Regions from separate parts of the Homo sapiens genome. Here region 2 is linked to region 1. Evidence: promoter capture Hi-C in human tissues and cell types (Jung and others, 2019). All regions are on one chromosome and are shown on one strand. The core of a region is centred on a gene start or on the middle of the fragment in contact, and the rest is flanking DNA. Distances in the headings are between cores, read along the strand shown.

Region 1 (3,352 bases), core at 162-2,661:
AACAACAACAAAAAACACTTTATTGAAAGGCATTAAAGAAGATGTAAATAAATGATGTAAATCAATTAACTGCAACTCAATGGCATAAAAACGACAATATTCCCAAAGTTCAAATATAGATTCACCACAACTTGAAAACAAAAGTCCAGTATGTGGAATTTGGTGAACTGACTAGAATTTAAGCCATGACATTCCTGAAAAAGAATGGCTAGGTGTAAGTACTTCATCTACAAGATATTTAGAAATCTCTAAATTACAAAGGTGTGCTTGAATCAATACAGAAAAAGATTGTTTCCAAAAATACTGAAGCGCCTGAGTTCATTCACAAATAATTACCAAAATTTAGGAAATATATTTTCTGGAAAAGATGTATACGCAGTCAAATCCACGGAGACAGTATTGGTGGGAGAGGAGGATGCAGTTTAGAAGAGGCACACAGCTTTCTGAGATTTAATAATCTCTTTCTTGGCCTGGTTTGTAAATTCGCTTTACTGTTGTCCTTTTAAGTGTGTGTAAGTCTGCGTGTGTGTGTAATCATACTTTTTTTGCATGTATGTCCTATTTTCCAGTGTTAAAATATGTGCATAGGAAAGGACACACCACAAAATAAGACGGTAAAATTCAATGGAAAATATTAATAATCACGATAAGTATAACTGGACTAACTCAAGTTAATTAACAAAATGTTGAACTGAATAGTAAATATACATATAGGCTATTTACAAGAGTCCACTAAAATTAAAATAAATAAAAAAGTGCAACCAGAAGGTCTTAAATTAAAAATATAAAAGGTACTCAAGGTAAGTGCTAATAAGAACACCAATGTGCTGACATTCACGAGATAAAATTGACTACAGCGCAGAAAGAAGGTGATTTCTCCTCGCGATGTCCAAATCCTGACGCCCCCCAATCTCCTGAACTGCCCCCAAACTCTTGAATTCACTTCAGCCGGGCTTTTCCGCCCCCACCAGAGACTTAGGGCTTTTCAGGATCAGGTGACCAATGCTTCTCTCATCACTAGCTGCAATGGTCCAATTTTATCCTTCGCGTCCCCAGCTTTTCATATCGCTGATCGCGAGATCTAAACGCACCCCTCGTCTGGATGCCTAGCTCTTTAGCCCCCGACCCTCGTACCCTCTTAGTCCTCACCGCCAGATAGGCCTCCCGTGACCCCTGGAACTGAGGGGGAGAAGGGTTAAGGAAAGCAGGGCTTACACGACTGGGAATAGGATCGGGGGAGCGGAGGTGACGGAAGCCGCCGCCGATGCGAAGAGAAGTTCATACGGGAGGTCCAGTCTGGCGTGGGGACACGAGGGGTCCCCAACAGGCCGAAAGAATTCGCCGCTGACCCCTCCTTGGCCCATGTGTCTCGGGGCAATCGACTCCAGAGAGTAATGGCTTCCGCTTCACTGCCGCCTTCCAATTCTCGCGGGACTTCATTGGCGGCGTCTAATACGGAAGCGGGGCGGAGAGGATGCTGGGAATTGTAGTTTTGAAGTTTGGATTGGCATGGCGGCCGTGCCCCGGTGGAATCTGACGGTCCAGCATATTTCTCCAATTTCTACTCAAGACTCAAATTTTCAACCACAACCCACAGCATTTTGTAGCCATCGTAGTGGTAAAGGTTGAATCAGGCAAGAATTGTCATCTACATGACACAACTGGGGGACATTTGCATGACGAGCAGAATATTTGAATTGCCTTAAATGCCTCTCTATAAACTGCTCGTATGTTGGAATGGAGAAAAAGTAATAGAAATTGTACAGCGAAGAAATTGGACAACATCTGGACCAGGTGATCAAATCAATATCACCAGTGAGGGTCAGATGGAGACCACGTGCCTCTGAATGACACCTTGGGAAGGGCGTAAAATCACCATCACCTGTGTGGTGTTCATCCTGCATATCTGCTATTTTGTATTTTTTGACCCACATCTTCCCATTTTCTTCCCCAACTGCCTCATTCTTTATTTCTGTGTATTTGAGCTGTCTCTCTTGATTAAAAAAAGTTCCTCATGTAAGTGACGTCATGCAATATTTTTCTTTTTGTGTCTGGCTTATTTCACTTAGCGTAATGTCCTCCAGGTCCACCCATCTTGTGATAAATGTCAGGACCTCCTTCTATTTCAAGGTTGAATAATATTCCGTTATATATATTATATGTTTTATACAATGGAATATATATTATATCATATTTATTATAATTATGTATTATGTGTATTATTACCGTATATTATATAATATATGCTAAAATAATATATGTATGTATGTTATATATATTATGGAATATATATTATATATAATATATATTATTTTAGCAGGAGGAGTCTGCATATACAAAATTCCAGAATCAGGCTGGGTACAGTGGCTCACACCTGTAATCTCAACACTTTAGGAAACCAAGGCTTCCCATGTAACCAGTAGGGGCAGAATTATATAGGCAGGAGAGACAGATGGTTAGTATTATCCAGGGCAGGTATTATAAAAGACAGAGAGAAGGAAATTTGAGGTTTTGGAAAATATATTATTGAGGGGATGGACCATGGTGCGTATATATATATATACACACACATATAAAATGTATGTATGGAATATATATGGATATAAGATATTCATATATAATATATAATCTATATTACATAACGTAATATATATTTCATAATACATAATATATACACCATAATATATAGCATATATACATATAATAATACATATAATATATAATATGTATTTCATATAGTATATTATATACATATATTACATATAATATATTACATGATATATAACATAATGGGAATATCTATTATGTAATAGGTATATATTTATATACAACATATTATATTAATATTTAATATAATATGAAATATATATCAATATTATATGATATTAATGTTGACATCATATATAAATACAAAAGAGATAGAATATTATTCAGACTACATAGCTGCTATTTTGTATTTCGTATTCATGTGAGCATCAATGGACATTCAGGTTGTTTCCGTAACTTGGATATTGTAAATAATGCTACAATGAAAATGAAAGTGCAGACATCGTTATGAGGTGATTATTTCATCTCTTTTAGGCATATATTCAAAAGAGGAATTGCTGGGTCATATAGTAGTTCTGTTGTAGATTTCTTTAAGAGCCTGAATACTGTTTTCCACAAAGGTTGTACCAGTCTGCATTCCCACCAACAATGTACTAGGGTTCACTTTGCTTGATGCCCTCGCCAACATTCATCTCTCATCTTTTTTTTCCTTTTTTTTTTTCTTTTTGCAATGGAGTTTCGTTCTTGTTTCCCAGGCTGGGGGGCAATGGTGAGATCTCAGCTACCGCAACCTCCGCCTCCCGGG
Region 2 (5,286 bases), core at 1,391-3,890, 140 kb before region 1:
CTGCGCTCGATTTCTCACCGGGCCTTAGCTGCCTTCCCACGGGGCAGGGCTTGGGACCTGCAGCCCGCCATGCCTGAGCCTCCCACCCCCTCCATGGGCTCCTGTGCGGCCCGCGCCTCCCCGACGAGCGCCACCCTCTGCTCCGCGGCTCCCAGTCCCATCGACCACCCAAGGGCTGAGGAGTGCGGGCGCACGGCACCGGGACTGGCAGGCAGCTCCACCTGCAGCCCCAGTGCGGGATCCACTGGGTGAAGCCAGCTGGGCTCCTGAGTCTGGTGGAGATATGGAGAACCCCTATGTCTAGCTCAGGGATTGTAAATACACCAATCAGCACCCTGTGTCTAGCTCAGGGTCTGTGAATGCACCAATGGACACTCTGTATCTAGCTACTCTGGTGGGGCCTTGGAGAACCTTCATGTCTAGCTCAGGGATTGTAAATACACCAATCGGCACTCTGTATCTAGCTCAAGGTTTGTAAACACACCAATCAGCACCCTATGTCTAGCTCAGGGTTTGTGAATGCACCAATTGACACTCTGTATCTGGCTACTCTGGTGGGGCCTTGGAGAACCTTTGTGTGGACACTCTGTATCTAGTTAATTTAGTGGGGACGTGGACAACCTTTGTGTCTAGCTTAGGGGTTGTAAAGGCACCAATCAGCACCCTGTCAAAACAGACCACTGGCTCTACCAATCAGCAGGATGTGGGTGGGGCCAGATACCAGAATAAAAGCAGGTTGCCCCAGCCAGCAGTGGCACCTCGCTCGGATCCCCTTCCAAGCTATGGAAGCTTTGTTCTTTTGCTCTTTGCAATAAATCTTACTACTGCTTACTCTTTGGGTCCACGCTGCTTTTATGAGCTGTAACACTCACCGCGAAGGTCTGCAGCTTCACTCCTGAAGCCAGCGAGACCACGAGCCTACTGGGAGGAACGAACAACTCCAAACGCGCTGCTTTAAGAGCTGTAACACTCACAGTGAAGGTCTGCAGCTTCACTCCTGAGCCAGCGAGACCATGGACCCACCAGAAGGAAGAAACTCCGAACACATCCGAACATCAGAAGGAACAAACTCCAGACGCGCCACTTAAGAGCTGTAACACTCACCGCGAGGGTCTGCGGCTTCATTCTTGAAGTCAGTGAGACCAAGAACCCACCAATTCTGGACACAAGGTGGCTCCTGTGGTGGGTCCACATTGTCAAACCTTCATAGCTCAGTAAGTGTTGAGGGAAATAGGGAAAAGAGATGATTGAGGGGAAAGGCATTGACTTGTTAATCATAGGGCAGGAGAAACCCTGTGATGTCCACGGAGAAGGGGCTGTTGAGGCTGATTTCTTGGAAGGGAGAATGGCTAGACTACTTGCTTAAATAGCCATTGTATAGCGAGCTTTAACTTTGCCTGTATATTACTTGGGTAGATGACTGATGGAGGTTATAGGAAGGGCTACTCTTTGTTGGCCTGGGGCACTGTTTGATATCTTAGCGCTGCCCTGGATCACTCTGTGTGGTCTTGGAGTGACCAATCTGCATTGTACAAATGGATGCTCCAAGGTACATGATAGGAATTGCAATTCTCCCTGGGGCCTGGAGGGAAAGATGGATTTAGGGCAGGCAAAACTAAGGACAAGGAAACAGGGTTGGGGATTCCTCATATCATTGGAATTGAGGGGAACAACTCAGGAATATTTTTGCAGAAGAAAAACAAAGGCCAGGAGAGGTAAAGGAATGAGGTCAATGTCTTGCTAACAATCTCAGCTTAAGGACGAGACTTGACTTCAAGTGAAATGAAGGGAATTATGGAAAAGAATCCTGCAGGTTTCAGTAGGAGCTGTAGGTGCCTTGCAGTGAAGTCCTGGTCACTTCTAGTTCTTTTCACCTACTACCTGACCCAAGAACTTCAGAGGCCCTCAGCCTAGATCAAGCCTCTCTGAATTCTTCTCTGTGACCCTCACTTGCTTGGAAACATCTCCTGCCTCTCCAGAAAGACTTATCCTTCCCCATCCTTCTTTACCCTTATCCATGATTCTAAGTAGACACCTTCAAGAGACAAGCGTCTGTGTTCCCTGGAATGGAAGGCCATGGTGTATAACAACTAGGGTACGATGGGTGAGTGAGGGAAAGTGAAGGGCTCAGGCAAGCCCAACATCCAGTCTCCTCTTGACATCGTATCCTCTGGGGAACACGAGGGAAGCATTGAAACCTGCAGGATTCTTTTCCATAATTCCCTTCATTTCACTTGAAGGTCAAGTCTCATCCTTAAGCTGAGATTGTTAGCAAGACATTGACCTCATTCCTTTACCTCTCCTGGCCTTTGTATTTCTTCTGCAAAAATATTCCTGAGTTGTTCCCCTCAATTCCAATGATATGAAGAATCCCCAACCCTGTTCCCTTATCCTTAGTTTTGCCTGCCCTAAATCCATCTTTCCCTCCAGGCCCCAGGGAGAATTGCAATTCCTATCATGTTACTCCTTTGATTGCCGTTCCTTCACAGCCCCATCCTTTATGGATTATACTTTTCAAAGTTCTTAGACATGTCATCCCTGCCCACCTCTCCAACATCATCCTCATCGTTTCTATCTAACACTTTGTACTTAAGCAGCAGCAAAGGGCTAAGAGAACTCTGTCCCATGCTGCTTCTTGCTTCTAGGCTTATTCCCTTGCTTATATCTCTGCCAGAAATGCCCCTGTGCAACCATTCACCTGGGTAACTCCTTGCCCAGGTATTCCTTCCTCCAGGACTCCTTCCCTGAATGCATTACTCCAGGCTGGATTGAGGGTTCCTCTCTGTACTCCACTCTGTACATCGTTTTATTTTAGCACTTAATTCACTGTGTTACAATGATCTGTTTCTGAATCCATCTTCTGGAAGGTGGAACCATAAGAAAAAAAAGACCACATCATTAATCTTTGTATCCCCAACAGCTAACACTTAGCCTGGCCCAAAGAAGACCCTCTTGCAGAATGGCTGTTAGCACTTTTTCAGTGACTGACAACCTAGTTGTCAACCTAGTTCAATTCTTCTGTACTTCCCAGCACGGCTCAACAAAAATTATGCACCAGGCCACGTGCTGTGGCTCATGCCTGTAATCCCAGCACTTTGGGAGGCCGAGGTGGGCAGATCACCTGAGGTTGGGAGTTGAAGACCAGCCTGGCCAACATGGTAAAACTAACTAGTTTTTGTAAAAAACTAGCTAGTTAGTTTTGTATTTTTACAAAAACTAGCTGGGCATGGTGGTGCACACCTGTAATCCCAGCTACTCAGGAGGCTGAGGCAGGAGAATTGTTTGAACCCGGGAGGCAGAGGTTATAGTGAGCCGAGATTGCGCCACTGAACTCTCCAGCCTGGGTGACAGCTCAAGACTCTGTCTCAAAAGAAAAGAAAACAAACAAAAACCCAACAACAACAAAAAAAATTGTGCACCAACACTAGACACTAGAAACAGATTAGGACATATTTATTATGTGGATGGAAAAAGAGAATCATATAAGTGTCAAATGACTGTATCTTTCTGGTCTCTAATTTTGAAACCCTGGTTCTAAGGTAGAAAGTTTTTAATGTGCGGTCAGCTTCTTAAGATGAATGTTATTACTGGTAATGTCATGACCTATTTGAATCAGAATTTGGCTGCCACCATAATTCCAAGTGGGACTTAAGGCAACAAGTAACCCTTCCTTCCTTCCTTCCTTCCTTCCTTCCTTCCTTCCTTCCTTCCTTCCTTTCTTCCTTTCCTTCCTTCCTTCTTTCCTTCCTTCCCTTCCTTCCTCCTTCCCTCCCTCCCTTCCTCTTTCCTTCCTTGAAAACCTAAATCCACTCATCTTGCAATATTTTGTCTAGCTATTATCTCTGCTTTCATATTTTCTCACTGCTCAGACATAGTTGTCTGACCTTCTTCAGTCTCAGTTGTGTCTTAGACAAGGAAGATGACCCTGACCTTTTCTTAAGTTCACTGAACCTTATATGTGTTAGAGCAGGTGCAGACCATTTTATCTCTAAGGTCTAAAGTTGCTCTTGGTAGATTTGATGATTCTAAAGCAGAGAAAAAGGGAATGGGTAAGCCTCTGAGAGGCCAATGAACAGGGGTTAGTCAACGTTATGAAATGTTGCCTATAACAAATGACAGAATGTAGGATTCCTAAGTTTTGCTATTTTAAAGCTTTTGTATCCAATTATTCACCTCAAGAAATAAAAAAGCAGAGAGATTTTGGAGCCTGTTCAGCATCTATTTCATGTTTCTTCCCTTCCTTAACTGTCTAGCTGATGTGTCAGCAACATGGACTTGGGAAATCAAACAAGAGTTTCAGAATTTTTACTCCTGGGATTTTCCCAAGACCTAGAGGATCAACAGTTGCTCTTTGCACTGTTTCTGTCCATGTACCTGGTCACCGTTCTGGGGAACCTGCTCATCATCCTGGCCATCAGCTCTGACTCCCACCTCCACACCCCCAGGTACTTCTTCCTCTCCAATCTGTCCCTGGCTGACATCGGTTTCACCTCCACCGCAGTCCCCAAGATGCTGGTGAACATCCAGGTGCAGAGCAATGCCATCAGCTATGCAGACTGCATCGCCCAGATGTATGTTTTTCATGGTTTTTGGAGGCATGGACACATTTCTCCTCACCGTGATGGCCTATGACCGGTATGTGGCCATCTGTCACCCCCTGTACTACTGTGTCACCAGGAACCCCTGCCTCTGTGGCCTGCTGGTTCTTGTGTCCTGGTTCCTCAGCTTGTCATACTCCCTGATCCAGAGTCTGTTGGTGCTGCGGGTGTCCTTCTGCACCAGTTGAGTCATTCAGCACTTTTACTGTGAGCTTGCTCAGGTCCTCAGGCTTACCTGCTCAGACACACATGTCAATTACATCCTGCTCTACGTGGTGGCCGGCCTTCTGGACTTTGTGCCCTTCTCAGGGATCCTTTTCTCCTACACCCAAATTGTCTCCTACATCCTGAGAATCTCATCCACAGATGGGAAACACAAAGCCTTTTCTACCTGTGGATCTCATCTGTTTGTGGTTTCTTTATTCTATGGGACAGGCCTTGGTGTGTATCTTAGTTCCAATGCATCGTCCTCTTCCTGGTGGGGCATGGTGGCCTCGGTCATGTACACTGTGGTCACCCCCATGCTGAACCCCTTCATCTATTGCTTGCGGAACAGGGACATCAAGAGGACCCTAGAAACACTGCTTGGGAGAATGCTGTATGCTCAATGACGGGGACATTGGTCCTGGGCTTCTGAGTTGGCAGAGGTAGCAGCAGTGAGCTAAAGAAATTCTGGACCAGCCTGGGC

What was found. Contacts are between HindIII fragments. The study calls those that stand out against the background at their distance.
Region 2: a fragment that was not itself captured here is called in contact with the fragment with the promoter of ZNF317 in region 1 in 2 of the 25 tissues and cell types used here (H1 embryonic stem cells and lymphoblastoid cells).

What each region holds. Positions count from the first base shown.
Region 1 is chr19:9,138,456-9,141,807 of GRCh38, reverse strand. It overlaps ZNF317 (zinc finger protein 317), which reads right to left and starts at 1,411. Exons shown (of 7, transcript NM_020933.5): 1 at 1,216-1,411. RefSeq lists enhancers at 1,389-1,598, 1,649-1,748. The HindIII fragment of the contact is 13,678 bases long and covers 1-3,352 here.
Region 2 is chr19:9,278,353-9,283,638 of GRCh38, reverse strand. It overlaps the pseudogene OR7H1P. Among named protein-coding and RNA genes, the nearest start is that of ZNF699, 29 kb to the left of the region's middle. The HindIII fragment of the contact is 5,089 bases long and covers 96-5,184 here.